4 separate regions of the Homo sapiens genome follow, and all the other regions are linked to region 1. Evidence: promoter capture Hi-C in 16 types of primary human blood cells and fetal thymus (Javierre and others, 2016). All regions are on one chromosome and are shown on one strand. The core of a region is centred on a gene start or on the middle of the fragment in contact, and the rest is flanking DNA. Distances in the headings are between cores, read along the strand shown. Region 1 holds the start of ASAP2 (ArfGAP with SH3 domain, ankyrin repeat and PH domain 2). Region 2 holds the start of YWHAQ (tyrosine 3-monooxygenase/tryptophan 5-monooxygenase activation protein theta). Region 3 overlaps MBOAT2 (membrane bound glycerophospholipid O-acyltransferase 2). Region 4 overlaps MBOAT2 (membrane bound glycerophospholipid O-acyltransferase 2).

Region 1 (3,018 bases), core at 462-2,961:
AGCTTAACTTTGTCCTTGTAGAAGTATTGATTAGTCTGGTTAATGCTGTACTAGACATCAAGGAAAAACCCGACTTTCTTTCTTAGATCCCTCATAGCCTCATAGAGACCAGCCCTCTACAAATCAAGACTTGAAAAGTTATTCAGCATATTCCCTCATGTCAAAAACTGTAGCTGGGAAACTAGGTAGGCGGGAACAGAATCTGCCTGGTGTTGGAGAGGATGTATTAATATAAATAATAAACACAAAACATGAATTGTAGAAGGTTGCAAATAGAGGAAAACTTCAGACACCAAAAGGATCAAAAAACATAAAAAGAAACAGATACAATTTTTAAATTGTAACTTGTTGTCTAGTGCAATGATAAAAGCTATCCACGAATACAGCGATTTTAGAAAGTTAAATTTTACATGCAGTGCTACTAAAATACCAAAGGCCATACATAATGTCTGACCCAAGCTGCCACCTCATATAGCAACTTCTTACATGGGGGCTTTAAAAAGATTGTTTGACTGGTCTACTGTCCTGCAGTGTCAGGAGACGGCTTTGTCTGACATATTGAATTTCCAGTGTCTCTCACACTTCCTCCTTTTCAGATGCACAAAAGGTTTTTGTAAAGTTTCTCTTGGTTTTACCGCTGGCAGCTACAGAAACCATGCCACAAGTCTGGTGTAGAGTTATAGGGTGTGATTTTATTTGACTGGTATCTTCAGAGCTTCTGGATTTTTCAGTATAACCGAGAATTTCCTTAAGAGCTGTAAATAAAAATCGGTACCAGTTCGAACCCTTTACTGGCCCGGTTTTGTGTGAGGTTGGCTGGCTGCTGTAGCACGTTCTCCCCCTCCTCCTCCTCCTGCACCCCCTCGGTTCCCTCCTCTGCCTGCGGGAATACCACTTCAGGGCGTTCAGCAGCCTTCCCAGGGTGGGTCCTGGCCTAGTACCCTAAAACTATAACCGAGAATACCTATCATTGGGCAGCCTAGGAAACGCGACTGGGACTTTTAGTAGGGGCCCCTCACCGCTCTGAAGCACTCACACTTGAGTCAGGGAACATGGGTTTGAATCCCCACCCGGCCGTTTATCTTGTGCTCTTGGGCACACTGTGTCCCCTATATAAAATAAGCACCCATCTCTTCATCTGTCTCCTAGGCCTGCGACGATGCAATGACTGCACGCAAAGCGCACATTCACGGTCAGGTCACTTCTGGCGTCCGGCTGTGGTCCCCGCAGGGTGCCCGCCGGCGGAGCGCATCCTCCGGCAGGGGGCGAGCTCCGCACCCCGCTTTCCTCATGGGCCGGCGCGGCCCGCCGTTCAAGTGGGGAGCCCAGAGGTGCTCCGCGCCGTGGGCGGGGGGCGGTTGGCGCGCACAAGGCCGGACTCCGGCGGGGCGCACCTCCACACGCACCCTCGCGGGCAGCGGGTCGGAGTCGGGGCCTCGGGCCGGCTGGGGGCGGGGCATGGGCGCGGCGCGCGGGGCCCGGAACGCCGAGACAATGCGGCGCGCGGCGGCCAGGAACGGCTCGGCGGGCCGGGGCGCGCGCCGCCTTCCTTCCTGCGGGATCCGCTTCCCGGCGGCGCGGCAGCGGCGAGCGCGCCGATTGGCGGCCCGGTCCTCCCGCCGCCCCGCCCCACGCCCGGCCGGCCGCCGCCCCCGGCCCGGACCCGCCCCTCTCCGCGGGAGGCGTCGGGGCCCGCGGCTGGGTGGCGGGTAGTTCCCGCCGGCTGTGCGCGCCCGCCTCGGGGCTCGCTCTGAGAGGACGCGGCGGCAGCGGACTCGGAGCCCTCGGCGCGCAGGCGGGCGGACCGGCCGAGCTGCGCGGGGCTGCGCGCCGCCCCTGCTCCGCCGCCAGGCCCCGCGCGGCTCCCGCGCCCGGCGCTCCCCTTTGTCCGCGGGCCGGAGCGGCGGCGGCAGCGGCGGTGTCCGAGCGGCGGTCGGAGCCTGCTGCGGCAGTTGAGGCGGCGGCGCCCCTGCGGCTGTGCGCCAGCGCCCTCGCGCCGAGGCGATGCCGGACCAGATCTCCGTGTCGGAATTCGTGGCCGAGACCCATGAGGACTACAAGGCGCCCACGGCCTCCAGCTTCACCACCCGCACGGCGCAGTGCCGGAACACTGTGGCGGCCATCGAGGAGGTGAGGCGGCCTGCGCGGCGGCTCCGGCCGCAGGTATCCCGCGCCCCAGCCCCGCCCGCCGCTCCCGCATCCGCATCCCGAGAAAACTTTCTTTGCTCCGAAGCCGGACGCGGCCGGGCCAACCCTGCCCGAGACAGAAGCCCTTTGTTCCCGCCTAGGTGGCTCGGAGGAGATGGGTGATGGCCACCTTGGGCCTCTTTAAGACCTCCCCTCTCTCGGCCTCGTGGCCCTCGCGGGGTTCCGCGGCCTGGTCTTTTCCCCGCAGCGCGGCCAACTTTGTCCAGAGTCGGGGTCCGCGGCGAGCGGGGGATCCCGCTGCCCGCCGCCGCCCGCCGCCGCCCGGGGTCTTTGGTACCCGGTGCGGACCTTATCAACTTGTTCTTGAAGTGGACCGGCGGGGGCAGCTCCGCGCTCCGAGCTCCCCGCCGCAGCCCCCGAGCGCCGCAGGGCCCCCACCCTCGGGTCCGCGGGTCCGGGGCATCCCGGGCTGCCCGGGAAGGCGTGCCCGCCTCAGCCAGGGCGGCCTGGCTGCGCTCCACCCGTGCCCGGAGAAGGAACTGCGGGCAAGGTGTGTGAGAGTCGGCGCTTCTGGGTCCAAGAAGCCTCCAGGAGCCGCTCCCCGGTTACCTGGGTCTCACCTGCTTGAACCCGGAATGCCGCCCTTCCCCCTCAACCTGGAAAAGGCCTGGTTTTAGTAAAGTGCTCTCAAGGTGCAAAGTCATCACGCCTAGCTGCTAAGCAGTACGCTCTCCAGGTCCTGGGGAGAGGAACACGTAGGAACGAAGAAGCTTGGTTGAAAATTAAAGCCGTGGGGAAAGGGGCAGAGTCTGTGAGTCCAGGGGCCACCGTTGGCTGTGGTTTGAGGCACATCCTCACCTGCAGTCCTCC
Region 2 (3,125 bases), core at 320-2,819, 420 kb after region 1:
CAATCGTCCTTGCTAAGACTGGACAGTTCAAAACCTGGAAAGCTTTCCTTGTCTGCTCCACACTGGAAACGAATTCACTTCAACACTAGTGTTTAAGCACAGGTGTGCAACAGCAAGGAAATGTTATTAAATGTTGAAATTTACCAGGACATTGTGTTCTTCAGATACAGCTGTGTCCTTTTCACATTTCCCGAACTCCCCTCCTCTCCTGTTTATGGGGGGTGGGGGGGAGCACAACAGATACTCTTACTTGAAAAATAAAGTATCTGTTCAGATTTTCTAAGTAAATTTCCATTACTGGGTTTGGGAAAAAATCCCTACTACATTGTCTGTAACAAAAAGGTGCCTGCGCCTTCTTTCAACTGCCTGAAGCTTGTGAACCGACTGAATACATTTAAAGGGCTCACAGATCTCAGGACGCAGTCTCCCCGCACAAGAAACTTAAAAACGCCTTTCAGTCTCGCAGAGACCTACTTGGATGTTTCCAAGTTCCATCGTTTGGTAGCTACCCAGCATCTGGGGCGAAAAAAAAGGACTTATCCTTGGAAAAGCGGCTTCTTGAGTCTCAACAACCGGAGGGACACAGTAGGGAAGTCAGGGCTCACCTAAAACCCTCCACCCCAGCAGACAGTCCGGCAAGCCCCGGCTCACGTTTGTTTCCGTGCCCGCGAAACTCTCAATGAAAAGCATCTCACAAAAGGCCTCCCCTGCTCCCCGCGCCGAGGACTCACCAGCACCGTGGTGCAGATGGATCTCAGCTCGGACTCCACTTTCTCCCGATAGTCCTTAATCAGCTGCAACTTCTTGTCGGAGGTGTCGGTCTTCTGCTCGATGCTAGAGATGACCCTCCAGGCGGACCTGCGGCCCCCGACCACGTTCTTGTAGGCCACGGAGAGCAGGTTGCGCTCCTCGTTGGACAGCTCGGCGCCCTGCTCGGTCACTGCCTTCATGCAGGTGGCCATGTCGTCGTAGCGCTCGGCCTGCTCGGCCAGCTTGGCCTTCTGGATCAGCTCAGTCTTCTCCATGGCGGGCGCGGGGCCGGGGCCGGGGCGGAGGGCGAGGAGAGCGAGGGCGAGCGCCGACCCGCAGCGGGAGGAGCCTCGAGAGCTGCGGAGGGGCGGGGCGGCGAGGCGAGAACAAAAAGCAGAGAGGGAGCGCCGTCAGACAATGCGGCCCGCCGCCCGCTTTTGTCTCCCGCACACGCGGCCGCTTGAATTTCCCTCTCCCCCGCCCCCTCCCCCGCTGGGCACCCGGGGAGGCCGCGGCCCGCGGCTGGAGGAGGCGGGGGCGGCGCGGAGGCCCCGCGCGCAGGGAGCCCGAGCCGCGGCCGCTCCCGCCACCCCCGCCCGGCCGGCCCAAGATGGAAGCGACCGTTGGCCCCGCACCTTCCCGCCCGGAGCCGTCCCTGAGGGGAGCGGCATCGACAACCGGCTGCTCTCAAGGGCGGCACCTCCGCCCGGCCCTCAATCCGAGCGCGGCCGGAGGAAGCCCGCGGGCCGACCCAGGCGCTCACCTTCACGTCTCCGCGGCCGCGACGCGAGTCCCACCACTTTGATCTGCTTTTGGCTTTAGCTGAGGACCCTCCCGTGTCAGCCTACCCCGGGGCCGAGGGGCGGTCCACCGCCCAATGATGCGCCGAGCTTCTCCCGAGAGTCCCGCCCCCAGCGCGCCGCTGGCCAATGAGGACCGAGCGCGCGGAAGGGGGCGAGGGGGGCGGAGCGGGAGGGAACGCGGAGGCTAGGAGGGTGGGTCGGTACGGGGAAGTTCGGTTGGCCGGCAGGCTGCGGCTTCGGCCACGGGGTTTCCTCCAATTAGATCCAGGGTAAAAGGACGTCACTGTTGCCATGGCGATGCCGTTACCAACTCCCCTCAGCCTCCCCGCCACCCCGGCACTTCTGGGTGCGGCACGAGACCCAGAGGCGCGCACGACCTCCTAGGCGGCGGCTGCGTCTCCCGCTGCGGATGGTGCATTGCATCTCACGGGCTCTGGCCGAGGCTGGACTTCGGAGGGTGACATATTCAGCTGTTTTAGAGCACGGGGGCCTTTCTTTCCTCCACCTTTCTATCCGTGACAAAGGTTTGGATCCCAAGACACTAAACCCAGACCTTAATGACGTTGCCATTAGGGCTCCGAATTAAGCAAACCGCATCCCCATTAAAGAAGAATTGATTCTGGAGACGGTGTCTTCAGTATGGCATTTACATGATAAATTCAAGTTTTCAGATGGGCATCCTAAAACAAAAAATTCCCTTGTGAAAAGGTAGGTCCCAGAAGATCCAGGGGAGTTTCTGTGACAATGCCAAGTATTGTGGTTTTCTTTAAAATGAGAAATGACATTAAGCACAATTTGCAGGAAAACACCTATTACTACCCCTTCCCACCCCCGCAAAAAAAAACCCTGCCCATAACATCTCTCCCCGCAAAAAAAAAGCAATTTTTATGTATCTTTTAGGCTTTCCAGGTTATGCACCTAAATACATCATTTTTCACATCGTTGTCACATGTGCACACGCTTTTGTTTCTGGTATTATTTGTGAGAGGTCACTTGAAAAGCTGAAATCCTCTCCCTGGATGTTGATTTCTGATTTTCTCCTCCTGGGGAACACCCTGCTGAAGCGAGAAAGATTCCCCCAGGCCCCTCCCATTCAGGGTCATCCCTGGCAGCTCCCTTTCCTCTTAAACCACTCCTGTCTCTCCTTGCACTTCCCCAGTTCCCTAACTCCATCCAGGTAGGGTGGCTGCCCTGCCCGTCTGGCGCGTGGTCCCTGTGCCATCTTAAGATGAGAATTGCCCTCTGGGTTCACGCTGCTATGATCCCGATTCCAGCAGGTCTAAGGAGAATGGATCATAAAGAATTTCCCATTCTGAGTGGAGACTGGAGCAAATCCGGAGAATCTCTAGAATGGGAGATTTGAGAGTGCAGACAGATGGGAGGAGAAGGTGCCGACTTTCCAGAAATTCAGACTCCCTCTTGACTGCCCCTCCCTGTCCTGACTTGTGAAGGTTGCTTTGTGCTTTGACAGACAGGAGCGGCCTGGATTGGAAAGGGCCTGTGTCTTAATGCAGAAATGCCTTACTATGTTCCAGCCTTCTAATGGAGGGCCCTGCTGTTATTTCTGGAATC
Region 3 (2,850 bases), core at 259-2,758, 330 kb before region 1:
AAAGAAACAGATGGATAAGTTCACAATGTGAAAATATTTGTATCTTTAAATAAGACTAACCAATACATGCTGTAAAGGCTCCAGATAAATCTCATGACCTTACATTTGGAGATGGCTCTGTTCTTTCATACTGTGTCTCTTCTTTTCCATTTTCACCAGATTGTGTGATATGGTATGATCTGCCTTCAATGAAAGTAATGTAGTCTTTGTAAGAGCAAAGTGGGCCTGCCAGGATCCCCATGAAGTTACAGTTGTAACTCAAATACTCCAGTAAGCTTGGCATGCGCCTGCAATGAAAAGACATGCAACCAGTGAGATGCAGCATAAGCTTCAGAACATCTGATAGAATAACGATCCACCTCACTGCTCTCCATTTCCAAAGTAAAACAAGCTTTCATTTTCATTTGTACCCATACAATAAGAATTTTAAGGATCAGAACATAGTCATGCTCAAAAGTATGTCTGAATAAGAGTTTCTATACAGATCCTTATGAGCAAATATGAAGGTTTCAACTTAGATTTCTCACGATGAGACAAATCAAAGATGGACGCACTATCTGCAAAGTGCTGTCTCCTCCTAGGCAATCATTTGCTCTTCTAACAAACACGTGCTGTGCACTGTGTGCCCCACCTGCTGCAGGGCCTGGATACGGCAGTAAACAAAGGAGAGGACAATCCTGCATCCACAGAGCTTGCATACTGGTTGCAGAAAACAATAATAAAATTTATAAAACATATTTTCAGAAGTGCTAAGTGTTACAAAAAGAAGGAACTCTTTTATTCTATTAAGAAGTCAGAGAAGGCCTCTCTGGTAAGGTGACAGTTGAGCAGAGACCAGGAAGAAGTGAGAGGAGTTGTGTGGATGTTGGTGACAGGGGTTCCAGGCAGAGGGAATGATGCGTGAAGACCCCTGAGCTGGGCACGGCTGGCAGCAAGGCAGCCGTGGGGCTGGAGCAGAGTGGACCCGGGGGAAGAGGTGGGAGCAGGGAAGACAGCTGAGGTGAGATCAGATGGGGCTTGCCTTACAAGCCATGGCAGGAACTTCAGATTTTATTCTGACTGAAATGAAAAAACACAGCAGGGGTTTAAAAGATCTGTCTCAATGCGTCACTCCAGCCCATGTGTGGGGCTCCTGCGGTCTCCAGGCAGGAGGTGACAATGGCTGGAGGAGGGGGCAGATGCTCTGCACGTATCCTGGCAGTGGAGCCTGAAGGCTGCGGAGGGATTGGCTGTGAGGTGGAGGAGAAAAGGGAGTCAAGTCAATTCCACTCCTTAGAGGTCTGTCCAAATGATACATGGTACCTATGGGTAACAGTGAAAATGGGTAGTTAACACAGGAGACTATTTAGACTATTTATGTTACCATATAAATGAATAAGGAGTGTATTTAAAAAAAACAGCTGCATTAAGAAAGCCTACTGTCCACTGTTAATGATAAACCATCACAAAGAAAGCACAACTGCACCTGTGGACAGCAGGCAGGCTTCTTGAACATGTTACAGTCCATGCTCCTCTCTGAATATGATAAGCTCTCTCCTTAAAAAATACAAACACTCTTGTGGACAAGAGAGGTTGAGAGAATACCCTCATAAACAGTTTTTTAAAGAGCTAGGTCTTGTTATGTTGCCCAGGCTGGACTCAAACTCCTGAGCTCAAGCAATCCTTCTGCCTTGGCCTCCTGAGTAGCTGGGATGACAAGCACACACCACCTTGCCTAGCTTAGCATATATTATTTTTCTTTGATAAATTAAATAGAACAAAATAGTGATTCCTGTCCATCTGATACTATCTGGGTTACCACTCAGCCCAAACTACTTTTCTAACTTTTCCAGAATTATTTTTCCACTTTTAAAAATGTCTTGAACCTTGGCCGGGCGCGGTGGCTCACGCCTGTAATCCCAGCACTTTGGGAGGCCGAGGCGGGCGGATCACGAGGTCAGGAGATCGAGACCATCCCAGCTAAAACGGTGAAACCCCGTCTCTACTAAAAATACAAAAAATTAGCCGGGCGTAGTGGCGGGCGCCTGTAGTCCCAGCTACTTGGGAGGCTGAGGCAGGAGAATGGCGTGAACCCGGGAGGCGGAGCTTGCAGTGAGCCGAGATCCCGCCACTGCACTCCAGCCTGGGCGACAGAGCGAGACTCCGTCTCAAAAAAAAAAAAAAAAAAAAATGTCTTGAACCTTAAGTATTTTCTTTTTAGGGCTTGAAACTGATGACAGAAAATGTTTCTGGCAGATTTTCTCTTTCAGTTCTTTCTATTTAATGATGAAACAGCATGCTTTCTCACTGTATCAAAGACCAGGGTAAGTACCCTGCAGTCACAAGGTTACAAAAGAACTCCTTGTACTCTAGCAGCAGAGCTCCATTCTCAATACCAATTATTTTAACACCAAGTCAAACTATGTATCACCGTTAGCAAGGACAGGAGATAGTTCTAAACCATGAAACTGGCTTAAGTAATTTTTGGCTCAACTGTCATATCAAACAACAAGTCATTTTAGGTACCGAAGTAAGTAACTGTATTTATTTATAAAATGAGAACTTAAGTCTAATTGTAATGTATAATATCAAACAAAAGACTCATTCATTCATTCCATTGCTATTTCATATCAACTATGTGTTGTCTCAAGCTTGGGCTTCTCGTGTACAGAATTATTGACACTTTGGGCCCATGATTCTCTGTGGTGGGGTCCCCTGTGCAGTGCAGGGTGTTTAGCAGCACCCCTAGGCGCTACCCACCGGACGCCAGTAGCACCACCCGCCTCAGCAGTAACAACCAAAAGTGTCTAGACATTGTCAGCTGACTCTTGGAGGCGAAATCACTCCAAATAATGACCACGGTTTGGATGA
Region 4 (3,267 bases), core at 768-3,267, 350 kb before region 1:
ACTGGATAAATCCAGGCTAATTAGAAGCCTGATTTTCTAGATAGCATATTACATTCCTTTGTAAGGGTCAGAAGGCCATGGTTAAACAGAATAAAAACAAAAATGTACATATTAATACCGGTAGCAATCTGAAAATCTCCCCAATCCAGATAATCAAAAGTTGAGTCAACAAAGAAAATGTGGAGATAGTTAAGACTTTTACCAGTCTGGCCTCACCTGCTATTTACTGTCTCTAAGTTACAAATATTCTAACGGAGGGGAGTGACAGAGAAGCAATATTGCTTCTTGATGGTTACTTTCATGAAGCAAAGAAAGGCCACATTATTAAAAATATTGAAAACATCATTTCTCAAATTATATAAACCAAATGTAACCTAAACTGTATCTATAACTGTAAGTTCAAGTGATTCTGAACAAAGTTCCTGGGATAGAAAATCTAACCCACAGCCCAATCACATTTTTAAACATGTACTAATTTTGTTAAAATGGAAACTGTAGCAGGACTTATTTAATGTCTTCCTGTATAATTATTGTCATATTTGATTCAATAATTTTTTTACGACTCTGTGCTAAGTCATTCTAAATGCTAGAGTAATAAAGAATTTATAAAAGAATAAAGTTTTTGATCTCTAAAATATCACCATCTAATATGGGGAAGTGGAATTTGGTGGGCAGGGAGAGGAGATAAGTAGATTATAAAAATACAGAATTCGAGACAAGACAATTTCTATAATATACAGATCACCACAGTATCAATCAAACATAAAAGACACAGTGAAAAGGAACAAATAAAATATAATTTATTTTCCTTAGGCTGGGTGTGGTGGCTCATGCCTGTAATCCCAGCACTTTGGGAGGCCAAGGCGGGTGGATCACGAGGTCAGGAGCCTCAAGACCAGCCTGGCCAAGATGGTGAAACCCCATCTCTACTAAAAAAAAAAACAAAAATTAGCCGGGTGTAGTGGTGGGTGCCTGTAATCCCAACTACTTGGGAGGCTGAGGCAGAGAATTGCTTGAACCTGGGAGGCAGAGGTTGCAGTGAGCCGAGCGAGATTGCACCACTGCACTCCAGCCTGGGCGACAGAGCAAGATTCCGTCTCAAAAAAAAAAAGATAATTAATAATTCTTTGTAAATAGCTGGTTTTTTCCCCAAAGAAGTTCAGGACAATTAAGCTAACAAGTTTTTTGTTAAATTTAGGAGAGGTTAGCTGGTTTTTTCCCCAAAGAAGTTCAGGACAATTAAGCTAACAAGTTTTTTGTTAAATTTAGGAGAGGTTTGAGGCAGTGGTTACCTGGCTGATATTTCTCTGTCTAAATCACTCATCTGAGGGTTGAGCAGTATGAGTCATTCCACAGAGAAACGCTGAGACTTGCTTGGTTCAGAATTAAAAAGTAACTGATAATGCATTTATCAGCAGGAAATGTGGCTATGGTACTGTTTTTCTATTCTATCCAATAGCAAGAAACTTTCTTTTGAAAATAGAGTTATTCCCACTGACAAAGTTTTAAGAGTAACACTTACCTGTAAAACGTGAGTGATGGTTTTATAGAAAGAAGCACAAATGGCACAACTGTGTAACTTATTGCTACTTGAGTTACTATCCATGTTATAACATCATAAAATAATTTCAGTTGGGAAGGTTCAATGAAATAATGTCTAAAGTTATTTCTCATCTGAAATAAAGAAACAAAAACATTTGCTGTATCTTTAAATTAACATTACTTATGCAGTTACACTGGTGATATCAACTGTTGGAAGGATGTGGAGTAGAGTAACTGAAACTCTCCTAAGTTGCTAGTGGGAATGTACACTGCTACTATGGATAAAGTTCGTTCTAAAAAAGCGAATACACATTGTACACACTGTGTATAAAAGACAGAGAGAGGGGAGATGAGGAAGTAACAGGGAAAACATAAATGACTGGTGAGTCTGGGTAAAGGGCATATAGAAGTTCTTTGCAACTTTTCTGTAGATTAGATTCTGTATTAAAATAAAAGTTTCCAAAAAAAAAAGAAAAGTTTAAGACAACACTGCCTAGAGATCCTTAAATCATATTTGGTAAAATATAGTATATAAATAAAGTTTGGTTTACCTTCATCCTTAACTCTTATTTAACCTCTGCATTTGTGAAAGACAAACTTGGCTTTGCTAATATGCAAGTGCATGGTGTATTTGGGGAATGACAAGTAAATCTAATGGAAGCAGAGAATTCATGTATGCATAGATACCTGGTAATTCTAGAGAGGTAAATGGGGGAAGGGAGGAGGGCAGTGGTAGAACTTGAACACCAGGTAGGGAAGAAGCCTATCCTATTCTGTCTGCTATGGGAGGGAGTTAGGTACAGTTTTTAAGCGCAAGAATGGAATGCCAAAAGCCCGTACCTCAGGACAAATGGATTTGTCATTGGTGAACAGGATGGAATCAAGAGCAGGTGACTGCCATGGTGGTGAGCTAGGCAAGAGATAGCAGAGCCTAGCCACTAAGAATTATGGGTTTTGCTAATGTCCTTCCGATGCTTAGAATGTCATTTTCTTCCCCATTATACTTCACTCACTATTGAAATAACTTTCATCTCTCAAAGTCCAGATCCAAACACCTTCCTAATGGGGCCATCTCTAATTAACCCAACCCAAAGAGACTTCTTCCATCTCTAAACACCTATGCTACTTAGTATTTATAACACCCACAGAATCTGTCTTATGCACACACACACATGCATAAGGTATGTACACACATATACACCTTATCCCAAATTAGACTACAAACTACTGGAAGCTACCCTTAGTTAATACTTCTTGAAATTTCCCTCATATATCCCCAAAGTTCCTCAAAATGGAATACAGTAAATATCTGCTAGTTTGTTAAATGAAGCCCTCTTACCTGTAAGTGCCATTACCAGCTTGTTCAAACATGGTTTTTGTCACGTCACTTTCCTCTAACTGGTTTTCAAGGGCTTACCCTAAATTATCCTTCTCCTTATTTCTTTCATGTCACCAACCTAATTTCTCAATTGTTTCCCCAAAATATTACTCTATGTTCTGTCTAGGCAAATACTCTAAAGAACTGTGTCCTCTTCCAGTGTGGCTCATCCACTGTCTTGGCCTCGCACAGCCTAGTCTTCATCTGAGAGAGGACTCAAAGGTTACAGCTTTCAGGAAACATTTCTAAAATAAACCTACCCATTCTGATCATCTTTATTTAACTCAGTTTTTATCTCTCCTTCAGAAAATTCTGTAAAGACAAAGTAACATTTTGTGAGTGCCTCC

What was found. The method cuts DNA at HindIII sites, captures the fragments that hold promoters and counts their contacts. A CHiCAGO score of 5 or more calls a contact.
Region 2: the fragment with the promoter of YWHAQ here is called in contact with the fragment with the promoter of ASAP2 in region 1 in 3 of 17 cell types (fetal thymus, naive B cells and erythroblasts); the score reaches 7.1 in fetal thymus.
Region 3: a fragment that was not itself captured here is called in contact with the fragment with the promoter of ASAP2 in region 1 in 4 of 17 cell types (M2 macrophages, endothelial precursors, M0 macrophages and 1 more); the score reaches 8.2 in M2 macrophages.
Region 4: a fragment that was not itself captured here is called in contact with the fragment with the promoter of ASAP2 in region 1 in 1 of 17 cell types (M2 macrophages); the score reaches 5.8 in M2 macrophages.

What each region holds. Positions count from the first base shown.
Region 1 is chr2:9,205,101-9,208,118 of GRCh38, forward strand. ASAP2 (ArfGAP with SH3 domain, ankyrin repeat and PH domain 2) reads left to right here and starts at 1,712. Exons shown (of 28, transcript NM_003887.3): 1 at 1,712-2,130. The coding sequence starts at 2,005. RefSeq lists enhancers at 861-1,793, 1,794-2,724 and silencers at 1,242-1,501, 1,248-1,431. The HindIII fragment of the contact is 2,916 bases long and covers 1-2,916 here.
Region 2 is chr2:9,629,428-9,632,552 of GRCh38, forward strand. It overlaps YWHAQ (tyrosine 3-monooxygenase/tryptophan 5-monooxygenase activation protein theta), which reads right to left and starts at 1,570. Exons shown (of 6, transcript NM_006826.4): 1 at 1,514-1,570; 2 at 732-1,107. The coding sequence starts at 1,025. RefSeq lists enhancers at 156-1,058, 802-901 and silencers at 1,022-1,371, 1,572-1,671, 1,722-1,891. The HindIII fragment of the contact is 4,477 bases long and covers 371-3,125 here.
Region 3 is chr2:8,876,927-8,879,776 of GRCh38, forward strand. MBOAT2 (membrane bound glycerophospholipid O-acyltransferase 2) reads right to left here. Exons shown (of 13, transcript NM_138799.4): 7 at 104-287. Among named protein-coding and RNA genes, the nearest start is that of KIDINS220, 41 kb to the left of the region's middle. The HindIII fragment of the contact is 2,239 bases long and covers 390-2,628 here.
Region 4 is chr2:8,859,091-8,862,357 of GRCh38, forward strand. MBOAT2 (membrane bound glycerophospholipid O-acyltransferase 2) reads right to left here. Exons shown (of 13, transcript NM_138799.4): 12 at 1,523-1,674. Among named protein-coding and RNA genes, the nearest start is that of KIDINS220, 23 kb to the left of the region's middle. The HindIII fragment of the contact is 6,341 bases long and covers 1-3,267 here.